Regions from separate parts of the Homo sapiens genome. Here all the other regions are linked to region 7. The links are contacts of gene promoters, found by promoter capture Hi-C in human tissues and cell types (Jung and others, 2019). All regions are on one chromosome and are shown on one strand. Each heading gives the region's core, a stretch centred on a gene start or on the middle of the fragment in contact. The rest is flanking DNA. Distances are from core to core; before and after follow the strand shown. Region 1 overlaps APCDD1L (APC down-regulated 1 like). Region 2 overlaps EDN3 (endothelin 3). Region 3 has its middle 54 kb from the start of EDN3. Region 4 has its middle 16 kb from the start of EDN3. Region 5 overlaps APCDD1L-DT (APCDD1L divergent transcript). Region 6 has its middle 140 kb from the start of PHACTR3. Region 7 holds the start of NELFCD (negative elongation factor complex member C/D).

Evidence for each region. Contacts are between HindIII fragments. The study calls those that stand out against the background at their distance.
Region 1: a fragment that was not itself captured here is called in contact with the fragment with the promoter of NELFCD in region 7 in 1 of the 25 tissues and cell types used here (liver).
Region 2: a contact is called between a fragment that was not itself captured here and the fragment with the promoter of NELFCD in region 7, in 1 of the 25 tissues and cell types used here (hippocampus).
Region 3: a fragment that was not itself captured here is called in contact with the fragment with the promoter of NELFCD in region 7 in 1 of the 25 tissues and cell types used here (small bowel).
Region 4: a contact is called between a fragment that was not itself captured here and the fragment with the promoter of NELFCD in region 7, in 1 of the 25 tissues and cell types used here (thymus).
Region 5: a contact is called between a fragment that was not itself captured here and the fragment with the promoter of NELFCD in region 7, in 1 of the 25 tissues and cell types used here (adrenal gland).
Region 6: a fragment that was not itself captured here is called in contact with the fragment with the promoter of NELFCD in region 7 in 1 of the 25 tissues and cell types used here (mesendoderm cells).

Annotation. Positions count from the first base shown.
Region 1 is chr20:58,478,462-58,481,258 of GRCh38, reverse strand. All of the region lies in intron 1 of APCDD1L (APC down-regulated 1 like), which reads left to right. Among named protein-coding and RNA genes, the nearest start is that of APCDD1L-DT, 36 kb to the left of the region's middle. The HindIII fragment of the contact is 3,432 bases long and covers 1-2,797 here.
Region 2 is chr20:59,315,268-59,318,192 of GRCh38, reverse strand. The region is part of intron 2 of EDN3 (endothelin 3); the gene reads right to left. Among named protein-coding and RNA genes, the nearest start is that of EDN3, 16 kb to the right of the region's middle. RefSeq lists an enhancer at 1-244. The HindIII fragment of the contact is 4,742 bases long and covers 1-2,925 here.
Region 3 is chr20:59,353,459-59,356,569 of GRCh38, reverse strand. No RefSeq gene overlaps it. Among named protein-coding and RNA genes, the nearest start is that of EDN3, 54 kb to the right of the region's middle. The HindIII fragment of the contact is 5,311 bases long and covers 1-3,111 here.
Region 4 is chr20:59,282,928-59,285,738 of GRCh38, reverse strand. No RefSeq gene overlaps it. Among named protein-coding and RNA genes, the nearest start is that of EDN3, 16 kb to the left of the region's middle. The HindIII fragment of the contact is 4,109 bases long and covers 1-2,811 here.
Region 5 is chr20:58,609,501-58,612,626 of GRCh38, reverse strand. All of the region lies in intron 6 of APCDD1L-DT (APCDD1L divergent transcript), which reads right to left. Among named protein-coding and RNA genes, the nearest start is that of LINC01711, 24 kb to the left of the region's middle. RefSeq lists an enhancer at 2,127-2,628. The HindIII fragment of the contact is 6,289 bases long and covers 1-3,126 here.
Region 6 is chr20:59,465,745-59,468,854 of GRCh38, reverse strand. No RefSeq gene overlaps it. Among named protein-coding and RNA genes, the nearest start is that of PHACTR3, 140 kb to the left of the region's middle. The HindIII fragment of the contact is 3,378 bases long and covers 76-3,110 here.
Region 7 is chr20:58,979,735-58,982,706 of GRCh38, reverse strand. NELFCD (negative elongation factor complex member C/D) reads right to left here and starts at 1,451. Exons shown (of 15, transcript NM_198976.4): 1 at 1,338-1,451. The coding sequence starts at 1,397. RefSeq lists an enhancer at 693-1,193 and a silencer at 1,116-1,595. The HindIII fragment of the contact is 13,643 bases long and covers 1-2,972 here.

The DNA of each region.
Region 1 (2,797 bases), core at 89-2,588, 500 kb after region 7:
AGCTAATAAAAGTTCAGTCCAACGGGAGACTCCCAGATACACATTCTGTTTGGAAAACACTGACTCCTAACTACACCGCTTAGGGCAGGCAACAGGACATTCAGTGAGATCTGGGCACATTCAGAACCCCTTCTACGCAGTGATGCTACAAGCTGTCATCATCCCCTCACCGGCTCCTCCAAGCACCAGGTGGGATGTTGGCATCAGTGGACAGCATTGGCCAAGTTTGGTATAAATAATGTCTACAGACCAACGTGCAAGCTGGGAACGCAGGTGCTAAAGTCAAGTTAACGAGGCCTTGTCTCCAAAACACCGGAACATCTGGGTGAAAAGGGAAACGCTTCCATCTGTCACCCTGCTTCCTTGGCTCTTTGGAAGCAGCTGGCCTGTGGCTGGGATGTTCCAGTTTCCAACTGGGTGGGAGCTCCAGCCAGAGCAAGAATAATTAGCATTATCATGAGGCCAAGGGAGAGTTTTCATGTGCACAGTTTTCGTTCTGGAACATTCCTAAACAAACAAACAGAAAAACCTAGCTTATGAGCCAGGCTTGGTGGGCCAGAACTCGTCTCCCCAGGCCCCCATTCCTTTCCCATTCTGTGAACTGTGCACTTCCTTTCCCTCAGCAGGAGTGGCTAAGCAGAGGCCTCGGGGAGTTATCCTCAGTGGCCAGCCGCTTCCTCATACGCAGCGTTTTCCATTGTGGCTTAAGCACATGTCACACAAACATGAAGCAGTCACCTTCTCCAGGTGGTACCAAGCAAGGCCCACCTTTGTCCTCCATCCCGTGGTCCAGACTGACCTGAGACTTTTCATGGAGAACTGGGGGGCCAGTAGCTAACCAAACCCTGTCCCTTTGATCACCTGTCAACCCGCAGCTTCTTAATCCAAAGGCCCTTCTGCTTCTCACATCCTCAGACCTGCTCTGCCAGGTACCCCTTGACTGACTTTCTCGGGCAGCCTTCAACTCTCTGAGTGCACTGAGCAGAGGAGGGCACATTCCACAGGGCTGGGATGCTGAAGGCTGCGGCGGGTGGAGGGTGCTTTGTTTAGAGCATATAATTTCTGTGTTTCCCAAGGTAGCAAAGTCCAACCCATTCCCCAACTTGCCTGCCAGCCCTGAACACGAAGATTCTCGGATTAGGTGGATGAGGAGATTCCATTATAGCCAAATGAGAGACATGTGAGGTATCTGAGGACCAGCCATTCACACCAGAGGTTGGAGGTGGGCTTCTTAGAATGCAAAGTGTGTCTTCATATTTCTGTGTTTGTTGATGCAGCATCCAGTCATAGCATCCAATCTGCAGCCTTCTGGGGGTGTTCTGGTGCAAACCCTGCATGCCTTTTGTGCAGTGACTTCATTGGAAAGTACATCTTTGGCTGCAGCAGTGCTGGAATGGCTCCATTTCCACAGCCGGTCTCTGAAGCTTAATGGCCACGCAGCCAGGGCCACCATCGCAGCCAGCATATCTCCTCCATTTGTAAAAGGCAGCCTCCTCTAATCAAGAGAGGTTATTTTTTGGGTAGGGAGCCATTGCTGAAATTTTTATTTAAAATATGTGTAAGCTTCCTCCAAGTCCAAACTTTCTAGGTGAATTACCTCAAGCTGACGGTTTTGAAATAAACTAGAGGGTTTCAGATATTTTAAGAAAAAAAAAAAAAAAAAAAGCAAATCTTAATCCAAACCTCAGTATATAAAACAGAGCAACAGATAGGGACTGTTTGGGCTAAAGCTGGGTCAAAGACTACATCCTACCCACTGGGTTGCCCTATCTGTTTCAAAAATAACCCCAGGGTCTTCAGAAGCCAACTTGAAAACCTCTGATACAGCAAAATGTGACATGCATGCTCCATCCTTGAGCTAGAGCTCTGCTGTCTAATCTGGCCATGTAGTCACAGGGCACCTGAAATGTGACCTGTCTAAATTGAGTTGTGCTGTAAGTATAAAATATACACCAAGTTCTGAAGACTTGGTATGGGGGGGAAAAGCACATAAAATATCTCATTAATCGTTGTATTTGTTACATGTTGAAATATATAGTACTTGGAGCCGGATAAAATATATCATTAAAATTGATTTTACCTGTCTCTTTTTAGCTTTTTTAACATGGCTACTAGAAAACATGCACCAGTAAAATCACATGCAGGGCTGACATTTATGGCTTGCATTATGTGACTGTGGAGCTAGTGGAGGCTTCCTTGGGGGTGCAGGACCATGTCAGGATCCTGGTTTCACTAGGGCAGGTTCCAAGGGTGAAAAGAGGCTTTAAAGCAAAGCACCTGGCATTCGCTTCTTAGGCCAGATCCAACCCATCTAAGCCTGTGACATGATCTGATGCTCACACACCAATCTCCCTTCACCTACTTCTCTTTCCTCTCTACCTGCTTGGATCAGCCTGGGCCCCCAGCCTGCTGGGAACTCCCTGACTGATCACCCTTTTGCCCTCAGCCAGATTCTTGGCAATCCCAACAGCTGTAAACCTTGTCTTTCTCCTCTCCTGCTTCAAGCCTGACTGTAATGGCCACATCCTGAGGGGTGGGAGAAGGGTCAACAAGGAAGTCACACACGTGCTGCTATGGACCACAAGCCATTCATTCATTCAGCGAAAAGTAGTCATTATAAATAGCATTTACTGAGCACTTAGTCTATGAAGGCATTGTCCTAAGCACTTTCCATGACTTAACACAACAAATATGTATTGGGCATCCCTGAGGCACTGTGCCAGGTGCTAGAGAATCAGCAGTGAGCAAGAGAGATGAGGACCCAGCCCTCATGAGGCTGGCAGACTCGTGGAGTCAC
Region 2 (2,925 bases), core at 114-2,613, 340 kb before region 7:
AAGCAGCTGTCACCCTGCAGGCCTGGAGATATGTACCTGGAGCCCTGCTCATCCCCAAGTGTCAGGCCCTGGAAGTGGTCTTGGGGATGCGTGAGTAGGGAATTCCAGCCCCTGAATACCTGGAACATGGTCTTGAAGAGGGAGCATATGGCTTTGAGTCCCAGACTCTTACAGTGGGGTGGGAGGCATGGCCAGAGTGGCGTCAGAGGCAGTCCTCTAACCCACAGGGCCCAGAGTTGCAGTGTTTCTTACCCAAGTCTAAAGGCAGATTACTGGATCCTCAAAAGAGAGGGCAGGTCTTTTACTTCTTTTTTACCCACCATGGGCCTCACACAAGGCCAGGCGAACAGATTATTGATTGAGCAACTGGTAATTCATGGTGAGATCATTCTAGTCTGGCGAGACAGGATTCTTTTCACCCTAAAGAGTTCAATAACCACAAAAATCACTGAAAGAATCTCCAACATTCTTCAGCATCCACTATATACGTGGTATCAATGTAAGTGTCACAGGGACACAGAAAGGCACATCCCTATGTGTCCATGCCTTCAGGAGTTATATGCTGTTGGACTACGAAAACAGGTAAAGGAAAAAAGGCCAGTAGGTACAGGTATGTGCAAGGTACACACAGAGACACATGACCTGGTAATACTGCTCTTATGTTACATGATGATCACTTCACCCTCTCAACAACTTCCTGGTCGACAAAAGTGTGGCTGGACAAAGCAAAGGAGATACTGCATGGAAAATACTTAGCAAAGTGCCATAAGCAAACAGTAGCTACTATTGTTATTTATCTGGTCTGGGAGGTCAAGTGAGTTGTATCAGAAAAGTCCCACCTACTAAGCTTGGCATTTGAGATGTTTGACTTAGCAATAAAGAAGGGTAATAAGGAGCCCAAGGCCACAGGTCACCTCATTCGACACCACCTTCTCACCGAGCTCTGACGCCAGATTACCAGCTCATGAGCACTTCTATTTCAGTAGTGATAACGTACTCATATCTCATGAGCATTCATATTTCATTTGTGGCCTGCTTCATCGCTGGCTGTTTACTGAGTAGTGAACAGGAAAGACCTAACGGTGGACCATGAACGTGAAGTGAAATTGGCGGAGAACCTTTGACCAGCATGCCCTGCCCAGTGGCTGGGGCCTACCGCTCTATAATACAACGGGGTTTTCAGAATACAATCCTTTATACAAGTAGGCAGCTCTTCCATCTGTTCATGTCTCAGTTATAAAACAAAGCTCCATGCAAAAGAAAAGCAGGTGAGAAGATTAATCCAAATATCCTTAGAAAAAACAAAATGCCCTCCAGCACACTTACATACGCAATCTCTGGTGTTGTGTGTGTTCATCCAATAAATTATCACTCAACTTATGTATTCAGAACATTCATTATTTGATTGGTGTGGTGACAACAGAGTCTTTTTTATCAAATGTTTCTTATTTGTCACGTTTTCCCAAACATCATGTATAAGTGTTATTAAATATTAAATTCCCCAATCTCTCATATTCATTCTTCATCTGCAACACCACACTGAAAACGCTTTATTTCTCTCTACAAGAAGTTTTTAAATAAGGAAAGCTGACTTTTGTTTTAAAGATTCTGTTTTTAAGTTCCGTGTTGCCTTTTCATGAATGAATTAACACTCTCCATCTTTCTGATCAGGAGACTGGCCTGTATATCTGAAGTTTAAAGAAGAGACACAGATATTCCCACTGACCAGATTCTAAATTCTTAGGAAAGCTTATCAAACTGTCATTCCCTATTGAAAACCCAGTTTTTATTCCACCCCCCACAACTGAATAGCATTCAACAAATATTTGCCAACTGCTTTTCAACATGCAGGCGCTGGACTAGACTCCGGGTAAAACTTATGTAAAGACAGACAAGGGGCGGGGCCCTGCCCTGCACACATACACTTTTAATCCAGTACTGAGGTCAGCAAATTGGCATTTTTGTCAGCTTTTTTCAGTCAACAGTGTTTTGTTTTTGTTTTCGTTTTGAGACAGAGTCTCACTCTGTCGCCAGGCTGGAGTGCAGTGGCGCAATCTTGGCTCACTGCAACCTCCGCCTCCTGGGTTTGAGCGATTCTCGTGCCTCACCCTCCCAAGCAGCTGGGACTACAGGCACACACCACCACACCCAGCTAATTTTTTTGTATTTTTAGTAGAGACAGGGTTTCACCATGTTGGCCAGAATGGTCTCAGTCGTTTGACCTCGTGATCCACCCCCTCACCCTCCCAAAGTGCTGGGATTACAGGCGTGAACCATAGTGTTTTTTGTTAAATCCGGAAATTTCACATAAACATCCCGATTTCCAGCTTTTCTTGAAGAATTGGAAGTTGTGCTAATACCAACCTCATATTCCAGCATGGCAGCCGGGTAATGATCTCAGAGACTGGGCGTAAACCCTCCATTCTGCCCCAGTCCCCACCATTTTCAGTAGTTTTATACCTGGCCCCCTTCGCTCATCTTTTTTATGTGTCTGGCCCTCAGGAGCATCTGAGTTTACAACTCCTAGTCTAGTGGTTTATTCCATAAAGCGAAGGCAGATAGGTCAGATGACACATGAACAAAATGAGTACCTGATACTATTTTCCTCTTTACAGATAGAGGCGTTGTTTCATTTAAATAGAGGTGTTGTTTTCATTTAAAAAGCCCAGCTGGTGACTTGAGTGTCTCCCCAACAAATAGAACATGTTCATGTCACACTTAGGATACATGTCAAGTTGATGATCTGCTTCCTCGGTTCACATTTTTCCTTCTGAACTGGGAAAGCAGAGGCAATATTGCCTTTTGGCCCAGGGGACATATTGTACAGAAAGCATGGCTCTGTGACTTGTCCTGTGGCCAAGAGGAGGAGAAACAACTGTTTCCCACTGGCAGACAGTCAGGAGGCAGCCCCCAGCTGCCAGGCAC
Region 3 (3,111 bases), core at 256-2,755, 370 kb before region 7:
TGAGATGGTGTGTGAGAAAGCCTGGGCTTGCCTTGGGAAGGCCCAGTGACAGCTTCCTTCCTTCCTTCTGAAGGATCTGCTGGAGGGCACATGCCCGCCCACATCTGGTTAGCGTGAAATACACCATCGATGACCTGACCCTGCAGCTCCCACCACGTCTGGGATGTGGCCTTGGAGGAGTGCCCAGAGGGCTCCCCTCTAGAATTCTAGCACTGTGCCATAAGTAACCCCAGATGCAGGTCCCCTGGATCTTCACAGAGCAACTCCAAGCCCACCCCCAGGACACCACGTGGCAGCCACAGGGGCCAACCTCCACCCTCTGGAGGAAACCCCCTGGTATTTCTTCATGGCCTTTAGTTCCTTAGAATGTGAGCCCTGGTTCCTATGAGCAGGAGGAAACGGAGAGAGAAGAGACAGGACAGGACAGAGGGGAGAGAGAGGAGAGAGGGGAGAGAGAGAGGATAGAGAGGGGACAGAGGAGAGACAGATGGGAGAGAGGGGAGAGGGAGGGAAGAGAGTGGAAGAAGAAGAGGGGGAGAGGGAGAGATGGGAGTGGGGGAGAGAGGAGAGAAAAAGAGGGGAGGGAAAGATAGGGGAAGAAAAGAGAGTGGAGGAAAAGGGGGGAGGAGAAGAGAGGGGAGGAAATGAGAGGGGAGGAAAAGAGGGGAGGAAAAGAGAGGGGAGAAGGAGAGAGGGGAGTCGGGGAGGAGGAGAGAGGAGAGGAAAAGAGGAGAGGAGAAGAGAGGGGGGGGAGAGGGAGAGAAGAGGGGGGAGAGGGAGAGAGGAGGGGGGAGAGGGAGAGAGGAGGGGGGGAGAGGGAGAGAGGAGGGGGGAGAGGGACAGAGGAGGGAGGAGGAGAGGGACAGAGGAGGGAGGGAGAGAGGAGGGAGGGGGGAGATAGGGAGAGGAGGGAGGGGGACAGAGGGAGAGAGGGGAGAGGGGGAGAGGGAGAGGGGGAAAGGGGGAGAGGGGGAGAGGAAGAGAGGGGAGGGGGAGAGGAAGAGAGGGGAGGGGGAGAGGAAGAGAGGGGAGAGGGAGAGAGGCAGAGAGGGAGAGAGGGAGGGAGAGGGAGAGAGGGAGAGGGAGTGAGAGAGAGGGAGAGAGGGGAGAGAGGGGAGATGGGGAGAGAGACAGAGAGGGTTGCATTCATCACAAAGACAACGGTAAGCAGAGAAGAGGAAGCCTGGCCCAGCTCAAACTCCCAACTTCCACAGTAGCTGAGTGTGGTGGGGGAGACAGGCAGAGGTCATTGGAAAGGCCCAGCGGCATCTCCCTCTTGCTTTCCTGGATCCCAGCAGTTACTTGGTGAATGTTCCTGTGGCTCTTGAAGCCATCCCCAAGTCCCAGCGATAACATCCGTGACAAGGAGGGTCCCTTGAGAACTCCCGCTGTCCCCACTCCTGTGCACCATTAATACTACTACTACTAAGGATATTAGAAATAGCCACAGTCCCCGTGGCTCTTGTCCTGCCTGAGGCACGGTGATCATTCCACTGAGTGCTCACCTCAGCCCCACGGGAAGAGGCTGCGTGGTCGCGTCCACTTTTGAGATGAGCAAGCTGAGGCTCCGTGAGTTCCGTGGCTGCCGCCCAAGGTCATAGAGCGAGGAGAGGCAGGACTAAAGTCGTGCAGCGTGGGAGCCCATGGCCTTAACGCCCGTGGAGCCGTGTTCACCCGTCTCATTTACTTTATTCACTTGGCCCCTTGGAGGTGCCAGGCCTGGGAGTGCTGGGGTCTGTGCTCTCTGGGGTGACTGTCCACTGGGAGGAGACCCACCCGCCGCAGCAACTACGTGACTGGAAACACAGCAGGTGGGGCCCATCTTCCTAGGAGGAGTCACGAGGAAGGCCTGCCTCCTGCACTAGAGTGGCTGCACCTGAAACCAGGAAGCCTCAGGCTCCTGACAGCCCCCAGGCTTGGTGCTGGGAGTTACGGAAGCCAAAACCCAGCCTGTTCATATTGATCTCAGCTTTACCAGGTGATGCAATGAATACCTTTGTATAATTGTGCTTGATTGAGGAGGAAATGGGCTTTTATCACAAAAGGCAAAGATCCGATTTTGCATTTTAATTTCAAAGTTTTCTTCATCTAAAAGAGCAAAACAAAAAGCCTAAAGGGGGTATTTAGGATGAGGCAATAAGTGGTAAGCTGAGAGTGGAGGGTGCGCACTCCAGGCAGACAGAAAAGCAGGTAGGACTTTGCGGGGCCCTGCTGGGTGCACGCACGCAGGCATGACCGGTCGGCCCCGTGTACACAAGGCAAATGAGGCACAATGGCACTGCAGAAAATGCCCAGCAACAAGGCCACCCTGTTCTAAAGTGGGCACGATTCAGGCCTGGCCTAGGGTCTGAATCCCTGCCCTGTGACCTGGGAAGTTCTCAGACCTGGTGTCCTCATCCATCAAGTGGGGCAGCCGCGAGAGTTCCATGAAGCCCAGTCGGCCCAGAGGAATAGTGGAGGAAAGCCGCATGAGGGTTGGGAACCGTCTCCTCCCCAGGCTTCCATCCTTTCTGGCCCCATCCACCACCCCAGGCCTCACCTGTCACTGACAGCAAGCAGAAGACACACACACACCAGGGGCGTGCACTGGGTTAGATTCTGTGATGAGAAAATTGCTGCCACCTTGATCAATAAATGAAGCCATGGCTGCCAGGCGCAGAGCCTGGGCGATCCAGAGCAGGGGAAAAGGGCCTGTTCCCCAGGCTGTCAAGCTCCTCATAGCTAGGGAGAATCTCAGGCCACATCTCAAGAGGGGCAAGAACTAGCCAGGCTCCTACTTCTCCCCATGGACGAAATTCACCTCCACGTGTCCATATGCCAGCTGGATGGCACTGTGGGACTCCCCCAGGGCTGTGCTGAGGTCCAAGCCAGCCCCAAAGCATAGGAGAGGTCCTTATGGCTGGGTCCACCTGTCCACACGGCTCACCAGAGAGGTGCCCGTTGCCCCATTGTTGAGACCAGGCTGATACTGCTCCTACAAGCATCTGACCTCTCTCATGTGGCCCGTCATGGTCCCCGAGTGAGGAATGAATGGCCTTGCACCGTCCCCATCTTTTTCCTATCTCTGCCGAATTGCTCCTTGCCCTTCCCTTCCCCTTCCCCCTCCCCCTC
Region 4 (2,811 bases), core at 175-2,674, 300 kb before region 7:
CTCCTGCTCTGCAGCATCACCAGGCCTATAGCTCAACACCACAGTCATTTTCAGTTTGAAATCACTCTGGCCTCTGTTGATATGGCTGCTCTCAACTGGTTGAAGACAAAAGGAATCGACAAACTAAAACCCTTTGGGAGGACCGGGCACAGTGGCTGACACCTGTAGTCCCGGCAGTTTGGGAGGCTGAGGCAGGCGGATCACCTGAGGTCAGGAGTTCAAGACCAGCCTGACCCACATGGAGAAACCCCATATCTACTAAAAATACAAAAATTAGCCATGCATGGTGGTGCATGCCTGTAATCCCAGGTACTCGGGAGGCTGAGGCAGGAGAATCACTTGAACCCGGGAGGTGGAGGTTGTGGTGAGCCAAGATCGTGCCATTGCACTCCAGCCTGGGCAACAAGAGTGAAACTCTGCCTCAAAACAAAACAAAACAAACCCTTTGGGAAAACAGATTAACATGGAAAAGTACAAACAGTATACACCCTCCACACTTTGAGGAGTCTAGGGTGGCTTTCAGCTGCCTGCCATGCATGCAGATTTCCACATTTTAACTCTTGTTTTAATTTTTTCCAAATGTTCTTTATTGTGGAATATCTGATAATATAAGTAGTCTTTAGGGGCTTCCTACAGCTGACTCTTAATAAGATAAACTGAAATAATGCTGACCACTTCTAGGTGCCCGGCATTGGCACACAGTATCTATAATACACAGCAGCAAGGAAGATCATAGTATCCCTTGTTTGCAGATGAGGACACTGGCTCAGAAGGGCTCAGTGGCTTCACTAGTCTTACGAGAGAGGGTGGGTCTGGAGATTTGGACTCAGCAGTTGTCAGCAAATGGATTGCATTTAAAGCTTCAGGATAAGCTTAGCCTGGAAATAAATGTGGATGGAGAAGAGATCTGAGGCTGAGACCTGAGGTGATCCAAAGTTTAGATCCAGAAAGAGAAAGAAGATCCAGAAAAGGGGACTGAAAAGGAGAATCCACCTGTGATTCAACCCCTCTGGGCCACGCTCCCCCGATGAGTGTAGCAGACTCCAGTGGCTACTCCACATTCTCAACAGCTATTTATCCACGGGCTTATCTGTTTGCTCAAAACACTTATTAAGAAGTGAGCAATGGGCCAGGCACTGCCAAGATGCTCACTGGCTAGAGAAGGAGGCTGGTAGAGCAAAATCATTAGAATACTCATAATCGTCCTACAACGTGCTCAGGATGGGCAAGCTTCAAATGGGGATCAATGCAAACCCACTTGCCAGGTCATTTATGCTAATATAGCCAGCCTGACTACATTGATCAGATTAGCCCCAGTAAATAAATAAAGCCACTAGGCAATGGCAACACACAAACTAGTGAAAACAATCTAGAAACCATTCTCAAGAAGTTTGTAATCTGGTGGAACAGTGAGACAGGCACAGAGAACATGGATAACACAAAAATATGGCAAATTCAAAGAAAGAATGCATGAATACAGTAAAAGTTCCTGAGGGCATGCCCAAGAATAAACCATCAAATATATGTGAAATTGATTTTCAACAAGGATGCCAACCCATTCAATAGAGGAAAAGACAATCTTTTCAACAAATGGTCCTGGAAAAACAGGATATCCACATTCAAAAGAATAAAAGTGGACCCTTAGCTAACACCACATACAAAAATTAGCTCAAAATTGACCAAAGACCTAAATGTAGGAGCTACAATTCTGAAACTCTTAGAAGACAACATATGGAGAAAGCTTTTTCCATGCTAAATCCATGACAAAGGATTTAGCAATGATTTATTGACACCAAAGGCACAGACAACAAAAGAAAAAATAGGCAAATTGGACTTCATCAAAATTAAAAACTTGTGCATCAGAGGACCCATCAACAGAGTAATAAGGCAGCCCACAGACTGGAAGAAAGTATTTGCAAATTGCTTATCTCTTAAGGGATTAACATCCAGAATATGTAAAAAACCAAAATGCAACAACAAAAAAGCAAACTCAATTAAAATATGGCAAAGGATTTGAAGACTTTTCTCCAAAGAGTATGTACTAATGGCCAATAAGCACAGGACCAGACGCTCAACATCACTCCTTATTAGGGAAAAACAGATCAAAACCACAATGAGATACCACTTCACACCCATTAGGATGGCTATTATCAAAATAACAGAAAGTAACCAGTGTTGGTGAGGATATGGAGAAATCGGTACACTTGAGCACCACTGGTGAAAATGCAAATGGTACAGCTGCTGTGAAAAACAGTATGGCAGCTCCTCAGAAGACTAAAAATAGAATAATGACAGCCGGGCAGGGTGGCTCATGCCTGTAATCCCAGCACTTTGGGAGGCCAAGACGGGCAGATCACGAGGTCAGGAGTTCAGATCAGTCTGGCCAACATAGTGAAACCCTGTCTTTACTAAAAATATAAAAAAATAGCTGAGTGTGGTGGTGCGTCCCTGTAATCCCAGCTACTCAGGAGGCTGGCTTCCCGCCTGGCTTCCACAATTTAAAAAATACTTTTCTTTAAAAAAAGGGTAGTGGGGAAGCTTCCTGTCTTCCCCAAGAAAAGTTACCAAGGGCAATATAGCCAAGCAAGTTGATCTTTCAGAGCACTTTAGTTCAAAGCCAGAAAGGCATCCAGGGAAATCCTGAGTCTTTGAAAAAGTCATTAAGGCAAAGCATTTCTTCCTTCTCTTTGCTCTCCTACAGAGCATACCTGTCTTCGGTGACCCTGCTCAAAATCTTTCTCCCACCAGCTCTTGAAAGGGGAAGTGCGGCCAAGCATGTGACCCTGGATAGGGCCTCCTGACATTCGATCT
Region 5 (3,126 bases), core at 485-2,984, 370 kb after region 7:
GAATAGGCATTATCGACACAACGGAATGACTTAAGAAGACAAGGTGCCTCCCCAAGGAAGCAGAGAACATGGCGGCTTTGCAAGAGTCTATTCACAGGACGCCAGAGTCAACAGGCCCTGACCCCTGCGGGCCTGAGGGGGCCCCAGACAGCCCCTCCCGCAGCCGCCTCCTGGAACTCTCTGCCCTTGGGTCCTCAGGGTGCCTTCACTTGTTGATTGTGACCTTACGGATTTAAGAACCCAGCCGGGGTGTGCTTTCCGCCAGGCACGGGGGGCCACAGTGGCACCCTCTGCCCCTCAACCTGGCGGGGGACACAGGCACGCTTGGTGGCCAAGACTTCTGTCCCATTTAGGATTGAGGAGCAGATCCTGGGGAGCTAGCCAAATACTGTTAGCTGATCAGTGAAAGCTCTGGTCACTAGAAAAGAGAGAGGGAGGAAGAGGGAGGGAGGGAGGAAAAGGGGGGAAGGAGGGAGGGAGGGAGGGAGGGAGTCTTCCTCTCAAGCCAGCATGGGTCCGAAATCCAGCTCTGCCCTTTCTAACCATGAGACCTTGCAGGCGTTCCTCAAACCACGTTTGTGACACGAGAGCCAGTGACAGTTCCTGGCTTGCGGGTTGTTGGAAGGCAAAAAGGAAGCTACTGCTTTACAAACACACACTTAGGTCAGAGCCTGGCCCAAGGCTGGCACAGTGACTGTTTTACCATGGGGGAACGAGGCCAGGAAGGCATGGCAGGCAGGTGGCTCCAGGTGGGACCTGAGGGAGGCCTGCAGGTTCTGGCCGGGGGCTGTTGGCAAGAGTCCTGCCCCAGGCTCCAGCTCTCTGGAAGTGAATGTGTGTTCCCTCCATGCCCTGGGAGACACCAGGCTGGGCCAGAGCCAGTCCTGGCCTCATGGACTGTCTGCAGCACAGAGCATTTCCTAGGACCTCAGGGCCAGGAGCCCAGGCCTGTACTCATCACCTCTAGAGAGGGGGAAACTGAGGCCCAGAGAAGTCGTCACCTGCCCAGTTCAAGCTCAGTGTCCCCCACTGGCTGGAGACAGCCAAGAAACCCTGTGCAGCCCCACCTCCCTCCCCTGGCACCTCCACCTGGGGGCTCAGTGGCAGGGTGCATGCCACATGGTCTCCAGGCCTGTGCCCCATCCAGCCACGTCCCAGCCAGGCAGGGTGCTGCTGTGGCCATCCTCTCTGGGGACCGGGCAGAAGGAAGTTTCCACAGAGGTGCTCTGAGCTCACAGAGCCTGAGGGCCTCCCAGGCCTTGTCTAGTCGTCAGCTCTGATTAGTGCCACCTGTCCTGTTTATCCGGATTTGCTGCCTAATCAAATCCTGAGTCCCTTAGTCACCTTGCTTACGCGTCCAGAGGCAACAGACAAATTTTAGGAAAATGCTCCTTGCAGAGAAATGTAAGTGCCAGGGCCTGAGCAGTGTTGCATTCCTGTGCCCTCTGAAACCTCCCAGGCAGAGTCCTTTCCCTGGGTCCTGGGTAGGGGTTCCAGAAACTTCCCTGAGATATTGACACAAAAGGAATCTCTGCTGTCAGTGTCTACAGCTGTAAAATGGGATGGCAACCGCAGCAAATGACGAGCGCAGCCAAGGTCTCGGTGGGCTTCATCCCCACAACAAGCAGGTACTGAGGGCTGGCGGGGCCCTGGACTGGGAAGTGGCGGGCAGGAAGCAGGCAAGACAAAGCCCCCAGCCCATGGAGCTTGTCATCTTTCACGGGGAGAAGGACAGGAAACACGCACACAGAGAATGGTTGTTCGTGATTAGAGCAACACAAAAATGAAACAGGGATATGATGACGAGAAGACCTGGGGAGGGGAGGGGAGGGCGTGTGACGTCCACTTCACCCTGGATGGTCTGGGAAGGCCTGTCAGGGGAGGGGACGGTTGACTGGGGGACTTGGAGGCTGAGAAGGCCCCAGCCACGGGGAGAGAGTTCCAGGCAGTGGAATGGCCTGTGCTAAGGTCCTGAGGCGGGACAGGCTTGCTGTGTTCTGGAGCAGTGGGTGGCCAGTGGGCTGATGAGCAGGGATGGGCGGGCAGGCTGGACCACGTGGGGCCTCGTAAGGTCTCCGTGGGATCCCAGGAGAGCGAGTCTTCACTGTGGGTCCGGACCAGGAAAGCGAGGGGCTCACCGTCTGGGAAGTCGTGTGAAGGGGATAGACTCCTCCCTCCCCACCTCAGCCAGGTCAGGCATGGAGAGGGTAAGGGGGCAGCTGGCCGCAGTGGCCCAGGCTCCCTGCATGTGGAGCTGGGTTATGCATGGAGGACACGTTGCTCTGAAGTCAGTGCTCAGATAGGGGTGTTCCATAGAGTCCTGAGCACCCTGCCACTGTGCAAAGTGCTTCACGTGCTCGGTTGGTGCTCCTGCCCTAGGCTGGCACCCGGCCCCTCCTCTGGAGCCCAGGACAGCCCTTAGTGGTTGAGGCTAGAGCCAGACCAGATGCCCAGGAGAAGCAGTTAGGGGCCAACCTTGAACCTCACCCTTCCTTACAGTTTCCCCTCAATGAGCACCATTGACCCCCAAGTTCCTTGCATGTCATAATTAACAATCTTAATCAATAATAATCATAGCTTGCATTTACTGAGTGTTTACTGTGTGCCAGGCACTGAACTACACATACCACACAAATCAACCCATCTAATCTACACAAAACTGCACGAGACAGGTGCTCTAATTAGCTCTGCTTCCAGATGAGAGAAACTGAGGCACAGAAAAGTCAAGCAACTTGCCCAATGTCACACAGCTGGCAAGTGGCAGAGCCAGGAAGGGACCTCCAACAGTATGGCTCCTAAACCCAAGCTTGCAACCAGTCCTTCCTCTGTGACACCTGCTGTGAGTAGTAATAACAGCAAAGCAGCTGAAGTTTGCTGAGCACCTGCTGTGTTCCAGGAACCATCTTTGTAAGCTTTTGCCATTCTTCACCCCTGCAAGGAGGCTTTTAAGGCATTTTTTCCTAATAGCTCTCTCCGATGACACTTTAACGCCACAGGTATACTGGGTGTCTGTTTAGGTACTGTTCAGGTATCCATGCTTTAAATGTAAAGAGTAAAATATGTTTTTCCCCCTTGGGAAGCAAATTCCGTCCTGTTGGGACTGCATGCTCTGCCCAGATGAACTCA
Region 6 (3,110 bases), core at 515-3,014, 490 kb before region 7:
TTCCAGCCCCTGTCTCCAAAGAGGCTGCCCTGACTCAGACTGTCTAGGGGGAAAGTTTAAAGTGAGAAGAGGGTACCTTGTGGTTAGTGGGCTCCAGGATCTCTGAGCTTGAGTTCGAATCCTGCATCTGTCAGTTGCTAGTTGTGTGGCCTCAGGCATGTTAGCTCTCAGCTCTAAGCTTTGGTCTCTTCCTCCGCCCTCAGAGAACTGCCGAGAACATCAATTGAGACAGAAGCGCTTCAGGTGTGGCCCCTGGACCAGCAGCATCCACCTCACCTGGGAACATGTTGGAAATGCAAGTTCTCCCCCTCCCCAGATCTCCTAAATCAGATCCTCAGGGGCGAGGCCAGCACGCTGTGTTTGAACAAACCCTCGCACTGATTCAGACGCATGCTCTGCCACAGGCACAAGGTGACAGGTGTCAAGGGAACACAGAAAGACAGAGAGACGAAGGGGAGCTACTGGCAGTACCAACAGCCAAGACCTGGGGCCCTCTCCTCCTGCCTCCAGGAGGCCTGATTTTCCCTTCCCTGCCTCCCTGCAGAAGTTCAAGGCTGTTCTTTATGAAAGAACTTACAGGTGGCCTCAGGCCCCCTGTTGAAGGTCATGGTATCTTCCCTCTTGTCCTTTCCCAGTCCAGGAGCACTCGGCCGTGACCCCCGAGAGATCCATGCCCTGTCATGCGCCTGCCTCTCAGCCTCTCCCCAGGCTAACTGCTGCAGTGCCAAGGAGGGCCCTGCCCTTTGCCTCTGTGCCCCCATTGCCAGGGTTTCCTGTTCAGCTGTGAAGGGCTCCCTCGATTGCTCCAGAGTCTGGAATTTGGGAACACTTCAAGCAGAAAGTTTATAATTCACCTCCCAATTCTTTCAGCCCTGTGAACTGCCTACTGCTTGAAAAACAAAAAACATCAAGTGACTGCTGATTATGGACTAGAACAGAAATCATGCAAATATTCTTACTTTGGCTAAGTTAAAATAGATTCCAAGGCACAGGCTTTGGCATGGCAGAAGCCAGGGCCCTCCATCCAGATTGGCTGTACCAGGTGACTTCCCTGAGCCCGCAGTTTTCTCACTGAAAATAATAATAATTGCTATTACTGTTATCAGCATAATAGCAGAATTTGTAAGCCCTTTGTCCTTCCAGCCTCTCTCAGAGGTAGGGTGGGGCAGCAGTTCTCTCACTGCTCATTAGAATCCCCTGGGGAGGTTTTAAAATGCAGATTCCCAGGCTACACTGGGACCAAGAGAGCCCCAGGATGGCCCAGCCGTCTGCATTTCTTCAAGCCCTCCTCTGTCCTTGGGTGGGACTATTGCCCACTGGCCTGTGTTTTCGTTCCTTGGAAATGGCCCCTCAGTTTTTTTTATGGGGACCCTACCCACTTCCCTCAGACACACGCACCTCAGGGTGTGACACAGGCCAGGTGGTCAGAGTCAACTCCAGGGGCTTGCAGGCCTTGGCCCTCACACTTGGGTTACATAAACCACTGCAAAGAACTTAACCGAAGCCAACATATGGCAAATTTTAAAACTATTAACTTCATTTAAGGAAAATAAACAACAACAATAGAGCCAGGTTGTCATGAATTGGAAGCAGATGCGTGGGGCTCTTTGTAGACTGCCTGCTCCCAACAAGATCATCCCTCTTCCCTCCCCATTCCCCTTCCCTGGTGCAAGCAGAGCTGCATCCTTAAGGAGGCTGGGCTCAGCCTGCCAGAGGTGGAGAGCCTCTGGACTCAGGAACCTCCGCCTGCCTCAATTTCCTCGTAATCACAGAACATCTGCTGCATGGAGCCTGCCCTGCATCCCTGGGGCCTGGCAGGGCCGTTAGTTACCATCTCATCTGGCAATGTCACAAACATCCTCATTCTCACTGTTGCAGCTGGTGTGAAGGGCTTGGGGACCTGGTGAGGGCTGGGCTGGCACCCAGGCCCCCTCCTGCCCCTGCAGCCCCAGCCGCTTGGGTCTGAAGCTGCAACTCTGAGTGGTGACATTTTGGCACCAGCCAGGGCCAAGAGCAGACACTTTGGTGACAGAGGAAAGGTTACGGCTCTGATGTTGGCTTTTTGAATTTTCTTTCTGGGCTCTCTTAGCTCTTGTCTGGTTTCTGGCTTTGGCGATTGGTTCTTCATGAGGTCTCTGGAGATGGCTTCTCTTCCTTCCCATGTGGCCTGTAAAATAGGCCTGGGCAGCCTCTTCATCCCAGCCCCTTCCCCTCCTTTCTCTTGATGTTGCCAGTCCTTACCCCCCAGGAGATGAGGCCTGCAGGTTGTGCGGGGTGGGCAGCCCCCGTGGTTGTGCAGCCTGCTGTGCTCAGACAGCCCATGCTTAGTTTAATGCTCTGCTGTCCTGTCTTCAAAATCTTCATACTTTGGGAGGAAGGGGGCAGGCATTTTCACGTGGCCCCGGGCGTGCAAATTCTGCAGCTGCCCTGAGAGATGAATCCATAAGCGAGGATAGAACGGGGGCGGCCCTATTGACTGAGGAGGAAGATTTCTTCTCCTCCCCTGGAGGGCAGAGGTCAGGGTGCACCACAGCCTGATGAAGCCATGCGAAGATGACCAGGACTGCTTGGAGTAGGGTGTCAGCCTCGGGTCCCCAAAACCCACTCCCGCCCCCTCCGAGGACTGACTAGTCAGGAGCGCAGGGGCTCGGATGGCCTTCATGGGGAAGACAGGTCAAATCCTCCTTCTTTCTCTTCATTGATCACTTTTCAAAATCATAAGTTGGTTCCCTGACATCCTCCAGCAGTGACCGATAGTGTCACTATGAACTCCTAAATGTAAACATATTGGATGAGTTTTGATCTATTTCGGTGAATCCATGGCAACGTATAGACCTATTATATATCCTCTTTCAAACATATAGATAAAATAACAATTCAAAACTTAAATACTGATTGGATATTTCATGATATTAATAATTTTTAATATTTTAGCTGTTAATAGTAACATGTGTGACCACCCTTATTTGGCAGATTTCTTATTTTTTAGTGCCATGTATTGGAATATTTATGGGTTAAATAAAAACAAAAAACAAAACTGCAACACATCTCCTGGGACCCCAGCCTCGGCCTCGGGAACCGGGTATTCTTGTGAGATGTTGGCCTTGGCA
Region 7 (2,972 bases), core at 202-2,701:
TTCAGAACCTGCTCCCTACTGACCTCCTGCCACTGCTTCCACCAGGCAGCTAACATCACAGGGCTTCTTTCAGTTCCAGAAACACATCGCCCGCCTTGGCATTTTAGACCATGGCTCCGAAGCCGCCATCACACCACCACCCATGTTTATCAACGTAAGCCCCACTTCATCCTTTATTCCCTTATAATACCACTTCAAAATGCACCAGACATCCCCAATCTTGATTGTTGTTAAAAATGCAAGTTCCTGGGCCACGAGCAGTGGCTCACGCCTGTAATCCCAGTACTTTGGGAGGCAGAGGTGGGTGGATCACCTGAGGTCAAGAGTTTGAGACCAGCCTGGCCAACAAGGTGAAACCCCCTCTCTACTCAAAATTTTAAAAATTAGCTGGGCATGGTGGTGGGTGCCTGTAATCCCAGCTATTCGGGAGGCTGAGGCAGGAGAATCGCTTGAATCCGAGAGGCAGACGTTGCAGTGAGCCGCGATGGCGCCATTACACTCCAGCCTGGGCAACAAGAGCGAAACTCCACCACAAAAAAAAAAAAAAAAAAAAAAAAAAAAAAAAATGCAAGTTCCCAGGCTCCCGTCCAGACCAACTGTTGGGCCGTCTCCAGGGGAGGGACGTGAGAAGCTACATTTCAATCATGCGCCTCAGTTGGGTCTTTAGAGTAAGGTGGGGACACACTGTCCAGACTAGAGCTACCTGCCCTGGCTCTGCAGTCCCTGTCCTCAGGGTGGAACAGTGATCCCTCCTGGGCTTCCACCCCAAACCCTGGAAGGTCAAGGCCCGAAAATCCTTTCCATCAGTTTGCCCAAAAACAGATGAAATCAGCCCAAGGTGCTGAAGAGTACAGTTTATAAAACAGTAAAGCACATGTAGGAATGCCCTAAGTTCTACTTTTTCCTCATGATGCTGCTGTGAAGTTTTTCCACTTTATTTTTGTTTAAAAGTCTGTGAGCTCCGGACCCAACCCTCCACCTTAGCGTTGGTGTCCCGCCCGCCGCGGGGGTCGCAGGGCCGGCGCCGGGCCTGGCCGGAGCGAGGGGGTACTGGGGGCCTCGGGCCGCCCCGCGCCAGAGCCTCCGGCGCCTCACCCCCACCCCAAGGTCCTGCAGGCGAGGAGGCGGGGACCCCGGCGGCCGCGCCGCGGGACCCCGGGCGGGCGGGGGCGGGGCGGGCTGTGCTTGAACCACACGGTGACCGCGCGGGCCGTGCGCGCGCACACCCCCCGCACGCCCGCAGCCTCGCGCCGCGCGGCCTCTCCGGGAGTGGGGCCGGCCCGCCGGCGGCGGAGACGAACGATTCTCTCTAGGGTGCGCCCAGTGCCCCGCCTCACCTGGCCGCCGTCAGCCTCGTCGCCCCACTCGGCCGCGCTCCCGTAGTAGTCCTCGTCCATGATGGCGCCCGGCACGGCCCCCGCCATGCCCTCCCGCGAGCGAGCGCGGCGCATGCGCGAGGCGGGGACGGGCGGGCGGGCGCACGCGCGGCCGCGCGCCTCGGCCCGGGCGGGAGGCGGGGCCTGGAAGAAGGGGCGGGGCCTGGAGGAAGGGCAGGGCCGCGGGCTCGGCACTGGGAACAAAGGGGACCGGCGGAAGGAACGCCCCCAGTCGATCCCGGAGCGATGCCCGGGTGGACCAGGGGCTTAGCTCCGGAGAGAGGTTTCCCACTGGATTCGTGCACAGCCCCTCCCCTGCGGCGCCGGCTCTGCGAGCCCCAGTTTCCTCATCTGGCAGCTGGAAACAAATCCTTCCGGAAGTGTCCAGGACCCACGAAAGTGTTTTAATTTCTTTTAGTTTTGGTAAAAAGTACTAAACGCGACCGGGCGTGGGGGCTCACGCCTGTAATCCCAGCACTTTGGGAGACCGAGGCTGACGGATCACTTGAGGTCAGGAGTTCGAGGCCAGTCTGGCCAACATGGTGAAACCCCGTCTCTGCTCAAAATACAAAAATTAGCCGGGCGTGGTGGCATGCGCCTGTAATCCCAGGTACTCGGGTGACTGAGGCAGGAGAATCGCTTGAACCCGGGAGGCGGAGGTTGCAGTGAGCCAAGATCGCACCATTGCACTCCAGCCTGAGCGACAGAGCGAGACCCTATCTCAAATAAATAAATACATACATAAAAAGGGCAGGGCACGGTGGCTCACGCCTGTAATCCCAACACTTTGGGAGGCCGAGGCGGGCGGATCACCTGAGGTCAGGAGTTCGAGACCAGCCTGGTCAACATGGTAAAACCCCTTCTCTACTAATAACACAAAAATTAGCTGGGCATGGTGGCGGGCGCCTGTAGTCTCAGCTACTCAAGAGGCTGAGTCACGAGAACCGCTTGAACCCAGGAGGTGGAGGTTGCAGTGAGCCAAGATCACACCACCGCACTCCAGCCTAGGCAACAGAGTGAAACTGTGTCAAAAAAAAAAAAAAAAAGAAAAAGAAAAAGAAAGAAAGAAGAAAGAAAGAAAAGAAAAGAAAAAAGAAAAGAGAAGAAAAAGTACTGAATGCAGTGGAAAGTAGCATTTTTAATTTTTTATAAAGTGGAAGATAGGCCCACAAAGCAAAAGTGCCCAGAGCTGACAAAAATCTCTGGAGAAAGGACCTCTCTGGTCGTTGCCAAAGGGAGCAGCTGACGCTGTTGTAAAGCCCGCAGCTCGATTCCCAGCGTGAAGTAGGGGGTGAGAATATGACAGCCTCCTGATGATCACGGAAAGGTTTTTGTTTGGTTGTTGTGTTTTTGTTTTGTTTTAATTTTAGATTCGGTGCGTGTGCAGGTTTGTTACATTGGTATATTGCGTGATGCTTCTAATCCTTTCGGCAACTTTTTCAGCCTTTACCCCCCTCCACACCTTCTGCCTTTTGGAATACCCCATGTCTGTTGTTCCCATCTTTGTGTCCAAATCACAGAAAATTTTAAACAGGGAGATTAACGCCATAAAATCTGGATGCTTTGAAAGGTAACGCCCGTGGCTGAGCGCCGCGG